Linked DNA regions of Homo sapiens: region 1 is linked to region 2. The links are contacts of gene promoters, found by promoter capture Hi-C in human tissues and cell types (Jung and others, 2019). All regions are on one chromosome and are shown on one strand. The core of a region is centred on a gene start or on the middle of the fragment in contact, and the rest is flanking DNA. Distances in the headings are between cores, read along the strand shown.

Region 1 (5,809 bases), core at 3,083-5,582, 1.0 Mb after region 2:
AATAAATTATGTAGACACTTTGCCTAAAGAAGGTAGAATATAAACCCCCTATCCTTAAACATAGTGAGTCCTTCCAAAGAGGATGGCATGGAGGAGGGAAGCGGAGCATTACAGTGGAGAAACCTGAGAGGCACGACCTCAACCAGGTGGCTGTGGGCAGCATCAACCATAGTGGTAAAGTCACCATGACACAACGCACCCTCAAAGTGACGTGGTAAAAATGGCCCTTGGCTGCTGAGATCTTCCTTTCAAAAGCCCATAAGCCCAGTCTTACCATGAGAAAAACATCAGACAAATCTGTACAGAGGGGCATCCTATAATACACCTGACTCGTTCTCCTCAAAACTGTCAAGGTCATTAAAAACCAAGGAAAGGCTGAGAAAACGTCACAATCAAGAGGCGCCTAAGGAGACAGGACGATTAAAAGTAATGGGGTATCATGGATGGTATTCCACAACAGAAGGACATTAGGGAAAATTAAAGGAAATTTGATTAAAGTATGGACTTCAGTTAATCACAAGTATCAGTATTGGTTCATTACTTATGACAAACACAACACAGGAAAGGTAAGAGGCTAACAATAGGAAGTGCGTGGATGGTGGGGAGGAGATAAAGAACCCTGTTGTACTATCTTTTAATTTTTCTGTAAATCTAAAACTGTTCTCAACATAGAGTCTACTCAGTCAGTTGCACCGCCTGTAGTTTCATCTACTGAGAAAGTTGAGGCTTGAGGATCGCTTAAACCCAGGAATTCAAGGCTGTAGTACACTATAATTGAGCCTGTGAACGGCCACTGCTTGGGCAACATAATAGCAAGATCTATCTCTCTAAAAAAAATTTAAGTCTACTTAAAAAATGAAAAGAAAAAAAAAAACTATGAAGGAAATGTGATAAGTATCAACAGGCATTAATTCTAATGAAAACACAGATGTTGGTTATACTATCCTTTGTTCTTGTGTTGAAAATTTAAAAAACTCAGAACATAAAAATCAAACCTTTCCTTGCTACCATAATGTAAGAAAAATATTTTTCAAAAAGTGATCTTGCTTACTTTTTATTTTATTGATTGATTGACTGAGACAGAGTCTCACTCTGTTGCCCAGGCTGGAGTGCAGTGACGCAATCTCGGCTCACTGCAACCTCCCCCTTCCAGGTTCACGAGATTCTTCTGCCTCAGACTCCCGAGTAGCTGGGACTACAGGCGCCCGCCACCACGCCCGGCTAATTTTTTATATTTTTAGTGGAGACGGGGTTTCACCTAGTTAGCTAGGATAGTCTCGATCTCCTGACCTCGTGATCCACCCACCTCAGCCTCCCAAAGTGCTGGGATTACAGGCATAAGCCACCATGCCTGGCTACTTACTTTTTATTTTTTTAGAGACAGGGTCTCTCTGTAGCCCAAGCTGGAGTACAGTGATACAACAATGGCTGACTACAGCCCCGGCCTCCTGAGCTCAAGTGATCTTCCTACCTCAGCCTCCTGAGTAGCTGGGACTATAGGCACGTGCCACCACACCCAGCTAATTTTTAAAATGTTTTGTAGAGATGGAGTCTCACTGTGTTGCCCACACTGGTCTCAACCTCCTTGGCTCAAGCAATCCTCCTGCCTCAACCTCCCAAAGTGTTGGGATTGCAGGTGTGAACCACTGCACCTGGCCAAGATCACTTTAAAAAATAATGTTTAAGAAAATTAATTATGCTGGCCTCTTGCACATAGGCCAAGGCACATTTTTCTAGCCAGAAAAGCTGACTTCTTTTTTTTTTGTTTTGTTTTTGAGACAGAGTCTCTCGCTCTGTCACCCAGGCTAGAGTGCAGTGGCGCAACCTCGGCTCACCGCAACCTCTGCCTCCTGGGTTCAAGCTACTCTCCTGCCTCAGCCTCCCGAGTAGCTGAGATTACAGGCATGTGCCACCATGCCCAGCTAATTTTGTATTTTGAGTAGAGATGAGGTTTCTCCATGTTGGTCAGGCTGGTCTCGAACTCACGACGTCAGGTGATCCACCCGCCTCGGCCTCCCAAAGTACTGGGATTACAAGCGTGAGCCACCATGCCCGTCGAAAGCTGACTTCTTTATGGGTCTTACAAAAATTGCTTGGCTGAATTAGTATTTCAGATTAAGAGCCATAACCCAATCAGACCACAGGCAAAGCTTACAGCATACAAGGGTATGTTTCTAAAAAGGAATAAGCAGTAAATTCTTTCATTTGACAAAAATACTCCTGGGAAATTAGACTCACTCTCCAGGTTACCTGTTCTATAAATTTCGTGCATGGGGGAAAACCTGACCCACACACAGAAAATAAGGTCTTATGTATTTCACCATCATAGTTTGAATACAGCTGTATTACAGACAAAATGATGCAGTCGAAAAAAATACAGGCTTGGAGTCAATCACAGGTGGATTTTAAGTAAAATTCTACCACTTTCAAACATGTGTCGTCTTGAATAATTTTCTGCATAGGCAGGAAAGTGGTTCAGAATATTTTACTCCTTGTTATAAAAGACATATGGCACCCACCTCACAGGATTATTAAAAATGAGAAAAAGCAAGATCATGTTTGCAAAGCACCCAGCACAGTGCCCAGTACAATAGGCATGTCCTTTTCTGCTCTTCCTCTTACTGTTATTCAGGAAGAATAAATATAGTAATTGTTATCCTTGCTCATACCTGGATCACACTGAAATTTTATGCTATAGTCATATACATAATTTTGAAAAATGCAAAAAAAAAAAAATTACATGGTAATCAACATAAAAACCCTTAGATATTTTAACTTGGTGACAGATGGACAGCAAATTACTGTCTATGGTAATTTGTATAAATATAACTCTTTTTAAAATATAGCAAAAATATTTTGGAAAAGTTGGTCCTTGAAGTTATGATTTGGACCCATTTACATTAAGAATGTTAGATGTGGCACTTCCCAAGTTTCTACAGTGAACTTAATCCTCAGACGATTCAGAAGATGAGAGATAACGTTTAAAGTGTGAAATACACAGTCACTACGGGACAACCATTATATATCATAATGTTACGTTCACACCATTAAAATGGAGAGTATCTCCCAGTGCGACCACACACAACAATCACATCACCAACACCTCCTAGGGCTTACTGGAGCTGTAACTAAGTGTGCAGGACTACGAAGGAATTGTGAATTGAACAGATTCCAGAGGTGGCACAGTGCTAGAGACATAGAAGTTCTGATCAGTCGGAGTTTCAAGATCTTGCTGAACATCCCAGGAATTAAACTGAGACCCCAAGGCCATGTCTAAGGAACAGGGCTTCAAGACCTGCCCTAAGTTAAGTTTAAAAACAAGCTTTGAGAGAATCAAACTGATCTGAGTAATTAAGAGCCTGCCAGAACAAAACAAACTAATAAAGGACAATAAAACCCATATTCAACAACATTATCATCCACCATTTCCACTACACAGTCTAAAAGTACTGGACATGCCAAGGAGCAGGAAGATGTGACCCATAACCAGGAATTCTATATTTAAACAAACAAGACTGTAAATGAAACAGATACAGAGATGACAGAGATGTTGGAATTTGCCTCTACAAGAAGAGCAGGAAGGGAGAAAAAAAGGAACAAAACACAGAAGCAGCAAACAGAAAACAAATAAGATGAGAAACCTAAACCCAACAATTATCAACATTAAATATAAATAAACTAAACACTACAATTAAAAGACTAAGGTTATCAGAATAAATTAAATAAGATCTAATGCTACGCTGCTTACAAGAGACATACTTAAGAGACAAAGTTAAGAGTGGGCTGGGTGTGGTGACTCATGCCTGTAATCCCAGCACTTTGGGAGGTCGAGGTGGGCAGATCGCTTGAGCTCAGGAGTTTGAGACCAGCCTGGGAAACATGGTGAAACCCTGTCTCTACTAAAAATACAAAAAAATAGCCAGACGTGGTAGTGTGTGCCTGTGGTTCCAGCTACTCAGGAGGCTGAGGTGGGAGGATCACCTCACCCGGGGTGGGGGGCAGAGGTTGCAGGGAGCCCAGACTGCGCCACTGGACTGCAGCTTAGGTGAGAGTGACATCCTGTATCAAAACAAAACAAAACAAAAAGAGTGAAAAAAAAATGTGAATGCTAATCATAAGGAGTCTACATTAAATATGAGAAAAAGGAGATAAAGACAAAGAATATTAACAAAAACAAATATTTCATAATGATAAAAGGCTAAATTTACCAGAGGCATTACAATCCAAAATACATATTAACCTAATAAAACAGTTTCAAAACACATGAAACAAGTACTTACATTTTGTTCTGACTAAATGAAAAACCAGACAAACCTAAAATTGTAATTGTAGATTTTAATAATCCTCTCTTAGTAACCAATAGAACAAAAAAATCATAAGGATTTGAACACCATCAACCAACTTATTCTAATAGACAATTATGAAACATCACATCCCACAACTGTAGGATACACATTCTATTTTTATGAGACAGAGTCTTGCTCCGTACCCAGGCTGAAGTGCAGTGGCGCGATCTCAGCTCACTGTAACCTCTACCTCCTGGGGTGAAGCGATTTTTGTATCTCAGCCCCCTCAAGCAGCTGCAACTACAGAAGCGCACCACCAAGCCTGGCTATTAATTTTTTTTGTACCTTTAGTAGAGACAGGTTTCACCACGTTGGCCAGGCTGGTCTAAAACTCAAGTGATCTGTCCGCCTTGGCCTCCCAAAGTGCTGGGATTACAGGCATGAGACACTGCGCCTGATCATTCTTTTCAAGTATAGATAGAATATTTGTCAAGAAAAACCATTTGCTGGGCCGTAAGACAAGTCTTCAATTTCAAAGGACAACCACCATACAAAGCATGTTTTCTGAACACAGTGGAGTTAAAAACCAACAATAAAATATCTGCAAAATTCCTAAATATTTAAAAGCTAAACACACTTCAGCATAATCCATGGGTCAAAGAATAAATCACATGTAAAATATAAACATATTTTAAACTAATTTAAAAAATGTATTAAAATTTGAGATGCAATTAACAACAGTATTTGGGGTACTTTTTTATGTTTATGGATTTAAAGGATTCAAAGAAATGGGGAAATAAAAAAGATGCATAGGGTTTAAGGAGAAATTTATTGCCCAAATGTTAATATTGGAAAAGTCTAAATAACCAGTGATACAAACTTCTACCCCAAAGAAAAGCCAACATAAGCAGAAGAAAATAAAGACAGAAATAAATGACATAGAAAACAAACAAGAAAAGGCTGACAACAACAAAAGCTGGCTGTTTGAAAATATTAATAAAATGGACAAACCCCAACCTAGATCAATGAGAGAAAAACAAGAGAGCACACCAGACATTATTATAAATTCTATCCAAATTAAGAAAAGAGTACAGAGGCCGGGCATGGTGGCTCACACCTATAATCCCAGCACTTTGGGAGGCTGAGGCAGGCGGATCACTTGAGGTCAGGAGTTCGACACCAGCCTGGCCAACATGGCAAAACCCCTCCTCTACTAAAAATACGAAACTTAGCCAGGCATGGTGGTGTGCGCCTGTAAGCACAGCTACTTGGGAGGCTGACGTGGGAGAACTGTTTGAACCCAGGACGTGGAGGCTGCAGTGAACTGAGATGATGCCACTGTACTCCAGCCTGGGCAACGGAGTGAGACTCTGACTCAGTTAAAAAAAAAAGAAAGAAAAAAAAGAAAAGAGTAGAGAAATGTTATGAACACCTTCATGCCAAATCAATTCAAGAACTTAAAATGGATATATTACTCAAAAATACAAATTACCAAAATTAGCACAAGAAGCAGAAAATTTGAA
Region 2 (5,203 bases), core at 1,024-3,523:
TGGGGCAGTGAGGGGCTGGGATTTCCAGTCAGATGGAGGAGGACGTGGGGGCTCCCGGATGCCTCGGAGCCCCGCCCTCCTGCCTTACCTCCTGGGCGGAGGCTGCCCCAGCCGGTGACCCGGCATGGTGTGCCGGGCGGCGGGCGGGCGCCGGGCACGGGCAGGCAGACGGGTTGGACGCGAGCGCTCAGGGGCACCGGGCGACGCAGCTGCAGCAGTGCCAGGTCGCCGCGGGCCCCGTCCTCGGAGTAGTCCGGGGGCAGCAGCACCCGTCGCACGGGCACCGAGAGCGTGCGGGGCGAGGTGGAGCCCAGACGCAGCGCCCCCAGGCGCACGCGGTACTCAGCTGGCAGTGCCCTCCTGCAGGACAGGAGCGGGGGACTACTTCCAGCACCGGGTCCTCGACCCCCTCCAGCCCGCCTCGACCCCAACGCCTCTGCCAGGCCACGCCCGGTCCTCTGCGGGCCTTGCCTTCCTTGCACACCCCGCCTGGGCCCTCGGTGAGCGCTGACCTGGGGAAGCAGTGCGCCGCTGTCAGCACCCACTGGGGGGCGATGAGCGACCCCCCGCACACGTGTGCCCCACGATGCTGGATGCTCGCCTGCCACGGCCACTCTCCGTCCCGGCCATCCCGGCCCCCAACGATCCGACTGGACATGCGGGGCTGCCCGCAGGCTAGAAAAGGACCAGGGGCGGTGAGGGTTGGCTGAGGACCTGGGGCCTGGGAGGCAGGTGTTGGTGGGGAGACACGGGGCCGAGGTCCAGGAGGGGCTGACTCGGGTGGACTCCGAGGCTTCCTCACCTGCAGACTTCCTTCCCTGAGTCCCAGCAGCTCCTGGAGGAGGAAGCAGGGAAGGGACCAGATTATAGATTTGGTGTCAAATAACGGAGTTGGAGGGGAGGCCAGAGATGAGGAAGGAGGGTGAAACAATGTTGCCCTGACATTGCGCCAGGCTTTCGTGCCGTCTGTTATCTTATTTAACCCTCCCCAGAGCACTGTGAAGGTGCAGGGGGCAAGGGCGTATGAGCATGACACCGACAAGCACATCGAGGTGTGGTGAGGTCAAGGTCAGTGGCAGAGAGGATTGAGCCCTTGGAATCAAGATTAGAAAGCCCAAGAGTGCTCCAGGGAGCCCGGCCCAGGGAGCAGTGAGATGGGAGAACTGGGAGCCAAGGTGTCTGCGGCCCTCACCCCCAGTCCCTGTCCCCACTCACCCAGCACCAGAAGGAGCAGGACCTGGAGACAGGAAACCCCTCTCATTCTGTCTTCAAGGCTGGGCTGGGTAAGGGTGGCACTGCCTAGGGCTTGGACTCTGGTCTGGAGCCAGCAGGGAGAAGAGAGGAGAGTCCTGGCCCAGGGGCACCAATCCTCACACCAGCCCGTCACCCCCTCCGTGGTCCTTCTGTCTGTCCTCAGCTCCTGGTGGGTTCTGGACTTATCCTGGTGGCCCAGGCTGTATACCCTTCGTTCTGCCCAGGGCCCAGGTATGCAGCACCCACCACCCAGATATTTGGGCATCCTTGGTCTCGACAGAAGCCCTGGAGCCTAACCCCCCTCGGTCATCCTCACTCCCTCCCTCATCCCCCTCCCCCATCCTCACCCCCTCCCTCATCCTCACCCCCTCCCTCATCCTCACTCCCTCCTCCATCCTCACCCCCCTCCTCCTCACTCCCCTCCCTTATCCTCACCCCTTCCCTCATCCTCATCCCTCTCTCATCCTCACCCCCTCCCTCATCCTCACCTCCTCCTCTATCCTCACCCCGTCCTCCATCGTCACCCCTGCTCCTCCTCACTCCCCTCCCTCATCCTCACCCCCTCCCTCATCCTCACCTCTCATCCTCACCCCTCTCTCATCCTCACCCCTCCCTCATCCTCACCCCTCCTCTATCCTCACCCCCTCCTCCATCCTCAGCCCCCTCCTCCTCACTCCCCTCCCTCATCCTCACCCCCTCCCTCATCCTCACCCCTGTCTCATCCTCACCCCCTCCCTCATCCTTCACCCCCTCCCTCATCCTCACTCCTCTCTCATCACCCCTCCTCCATCCTTCACCCCCCCATCGTCACCCCCTCCCTCATCCTCACCCCCTCCTCTATCCTCACCCCCTTCCTCCTCACTCCCCTCCCTCATCTTCACCACTTCCCTCATCCTCACCCCCTCCCCCATCCTTCACCCCTCCTCGTCCTCACCCTCATCCTCACCCACTGGCTGCCCCTGCAGCCCCCACAGCCCCTGGCTTGCTCTCACCCTCACAGCCTGGCGCCTTCTGCTGACTGGGGTTGAGGGAGGGCCTGGGGGCTTAAAGTGCCAGGAGAGCGCGAGGCTCAGCCAAGGAGTAATGAACAGGGCCGGGGCGGGGCTGTGGCTTTACCGGACCAGCCTCAAACAAAGATGCTTTGAGCAGAGCTTCAGAGGTGGCAGGAAAGGGTCAATGGGTTTCTCAAAGGAAGCCTGCCTTGCGCCAAGGTACTAGAAGTGGGGGCTGGCGGAGAGCAGTGGTGCGGGTAGGTGCTGGGAGGGGTGGCAGTCAGGTGGGGAAGCTCTGCAGGATCCGGGGCAACTCCTCTCCAAACCTGACCTGGGCTCCCTGCAGAGCACACGTTGCTGGAGCTTCTGCGCTCCATTGTTCTGTCCAGAAATCCCATCTCAGACGGAAGTCCTGGCCAGACAGCTCCACCCAGAGACCCCAGCATGGCCAGCCCCCTTCCAGATCCGGGGTCTGGAGCAGCTGGAGGTGGAAAGGGACTGGTTCAAAGTTGGTGGCACTCCTTACTTGACCAGAGGCAGGGGGAGACTTGACCTTGGGGACCAGTGCAGTCTTTGGTTTGGGGTGGCCGAGACAGAGCAAGATGCTGGGGTCAGGGGACAGGAACTCCCCTTCTCTCGAGGCCCGTGGAGGACCGGGGCCCGGATGGTCCAGGGCCCTGTAGTTCCCTCTTGGGCTCATACACAGTGTTCGCTGCCTAGAAGTCTCTCAAGTCCCTCTCTGCATAGTGAACTCCTCTTATCCCTCAGCCTTCTGCTCTGCCACCTCCTCCTGCCTCCTTTGCAGCCCTGCCATAGTTGTACTTTTTTCCTTTTTTTTTTTTTTGTTTTTCTTTCTTTTTTTTTTTAAAGAGACAGGGTCTTGGCCAAGCATGGTGGCTCATGCCTGTAATCCCTGCATTTTGGGAAGCCGAGATGGGTGGCTCATTTGAGGTCAGGGGTTTGAGACGAGCCTGGCCAACATGGTGAAACCTCGTCTCTACTAAAAATACAAAAATTAGCCAGGCCTGATGGTGGGCGCCTGCAATCTCAGCTACTCGGGAGGCTGAGGCACAGGAATTGCTTGAACCCGGGAGGTGGAAGTTGCAGTGAGCCGAGATTATGCCACTGCACTCCAGCCTGGGCGACGCAGTGAGATTCTGTCTCAAAAAAAAATAAAAAGGGAGAGAGAGACAGGGTCTTGCTCTGTCACCCAGGCTGGAGTGCAGTGGTACAATCACAACTCCCTGCGTCCTTGACCTCTGGGCTCAAGTGATCCTGCCACCTCAGCTTCCCAAGTAGTTGGGACCACAGGTGCATGCCACAGCACCTAGCAATTTTTTTTTCCAGAGATGGGGTCTTGCAATGATGCCCAACTTGTTCTCGAACTCCTGGGCTCAAGAGATCCTCTTGCTGTAGTCTCCCAAAGTGCTGGGGTTATAGGCATGTGCCACCGAGGCCAGCCCATAGTTGTCCTTTGACAGGGACTTGAGGAGGTTTGATTTACATCCTCTTGTCTCCCCTCCAGCATCAGGGTCTGGGTCTGTGTCCCTGTAGGAGTCCGCTTGGGCTGCCATAAACAAAAACCACAGCCGAAGGGGCTTTCTTTTTTTTTTTCTGAGACAGAGTCTTGCTCTGTCTCCAGGCTGGAGTGCGGTGGCGTGATCTCGGCTCACTGCAACCTCCACCTCCCGGGTTCAAGCTATTCTCCTGCCTCAGCCTCCTGAGTAGCAGGGATTTACAGGTGCGCGCCATCACACCCGGCTAATTTTTTTTTTTTTTTTGTATTTTTAGTGGAGACGCGGTTTCACCTTGTTGGCCAGGATGGTCTTGATCTCTTGACCTCATGGTCCGCCCGCCTCGGCCTCCCAAAGTGCTGGGATTACAGGCGTGAACCACTGCGCCCGGCCGTGGGGGCTTAAACAACATAAATGTATTGCTCATGATTCTAGAGCCTGGGAATTCCAAGATCAAGGTGCCAGTAACATAGTTTTCATTCTAAGGCCACTTTTCTTGGCTTGTTGGGTGGCCTGCATCTTGCTGTGTGCTTCCGTGGCCTCTGTGTGCATGAGGGGAGGGAGAGAGACAGGTTGCACTCTTGTCACTTCTTATGAGTGACACAGAACGGCTGGGCTCCCACCTTCAAGCCTGGAGCCCCAGCCCTAAGTGAAAACATCTGACCCTGTTTTTCTGCCCAAATGATTGCCTTCTTGGCCCACCCCGCCCCCTAACCTGTACCGGTAAAAACCAGACCAGATGGCAGAAGAAAAGGAAGAAAAGAGCAACACAAGCAGCTGACCAGCAGGGATACAAGCTGCTGAGCCTTGGGGATACATGCGGCTGAGCTTTAGCTGTGGATAGATGCGGCTAACTTCAGATGGTGCGACTTCAGGGAAAGATCACCTTCCTTCCGCATCAATTCCCCATCCTGCTGACAGCCACTTTTATCACCCATTGAAATCCTCCGCATGCACTACCTTCCAAATAGCTCATGTGACCTGGTTCTTCCTGGACACTGAACAAGAACTCGGGTGTCAAAAAGGGCAGGTGCAGGATGCTGTCACCCTGACCCTTCACTGAACTGTTAATATTTAGCCATCCACGAACAACAGCTGAGTGAAACGAGCCACTCCAGTTCCTGCCCACGAAGGGGGTCACAGTCAAGGGAACAAATCCCGTCTCATAAGGACACGAATTCTATTGGATTAGGGTCCTACTCTTTTTTTTTTTTTTTTTTTAAGACAGGGTTTTGGTCTTGTTGCCCAGGCTGGAGTGCAGTGGCACAATCTCGGCTCACCGCAACCTCCGCCTCCCGGGTTCAAGTGATTCTTCTGCCTCAGCCTCCCGAGTAGCTGGGATTACAGGCATGCGCCACCACGCCCAGCTAATTTTGTACTTTTAGTAGAGACAAGGTTTCTCCATGTTGGTCAGGCTGGTCTTGAACTCCTGACCTCAGGCGA

Evidence for each region. The method cuts DNA at HindIII sites, captures the fragments that hold promoters and counts their contacts. A contact is called where the count stands out against the background at its distance.
Region 1: a fragment that was not itself captured here is called in contact with the fragment with the promoter of PRSS33 in region 2 in 1 of the 25 tissues and cell types used here (aorta).

Annotation. Positions count from the first base shown.
Region 1 is chr16:3,826,334-3,832,142 of GRCh38, forward strand. All of the region lies in intron 2 of CREBBP (CREB binding lysine acetyltransferase), which reads right to left. Among named protein-coding and RNA genes, the nearest start is that of CREBBP, 51 kb to the right of the region's middle. The HindIII fragment of the contact is 3,192 bases long and covers 2,737-5,809 here.
Region 2 is chr16:2,785,287-2,790,489 of GRCh38, forward strand. PRSS33 (serine protease 33) reads right to left here and starts at 2,274. Exons shown (of 7, transcript NM_152891.3): 1 at 2,247-2,274; 2 at 1,216-1,318; 3 at 803-835; 4 at 513-675; 5 at 89-360. The coding sequence starts at 1,261. The HindIII fragment of the contact is 27,852 bases long and covers 1-5,203 here.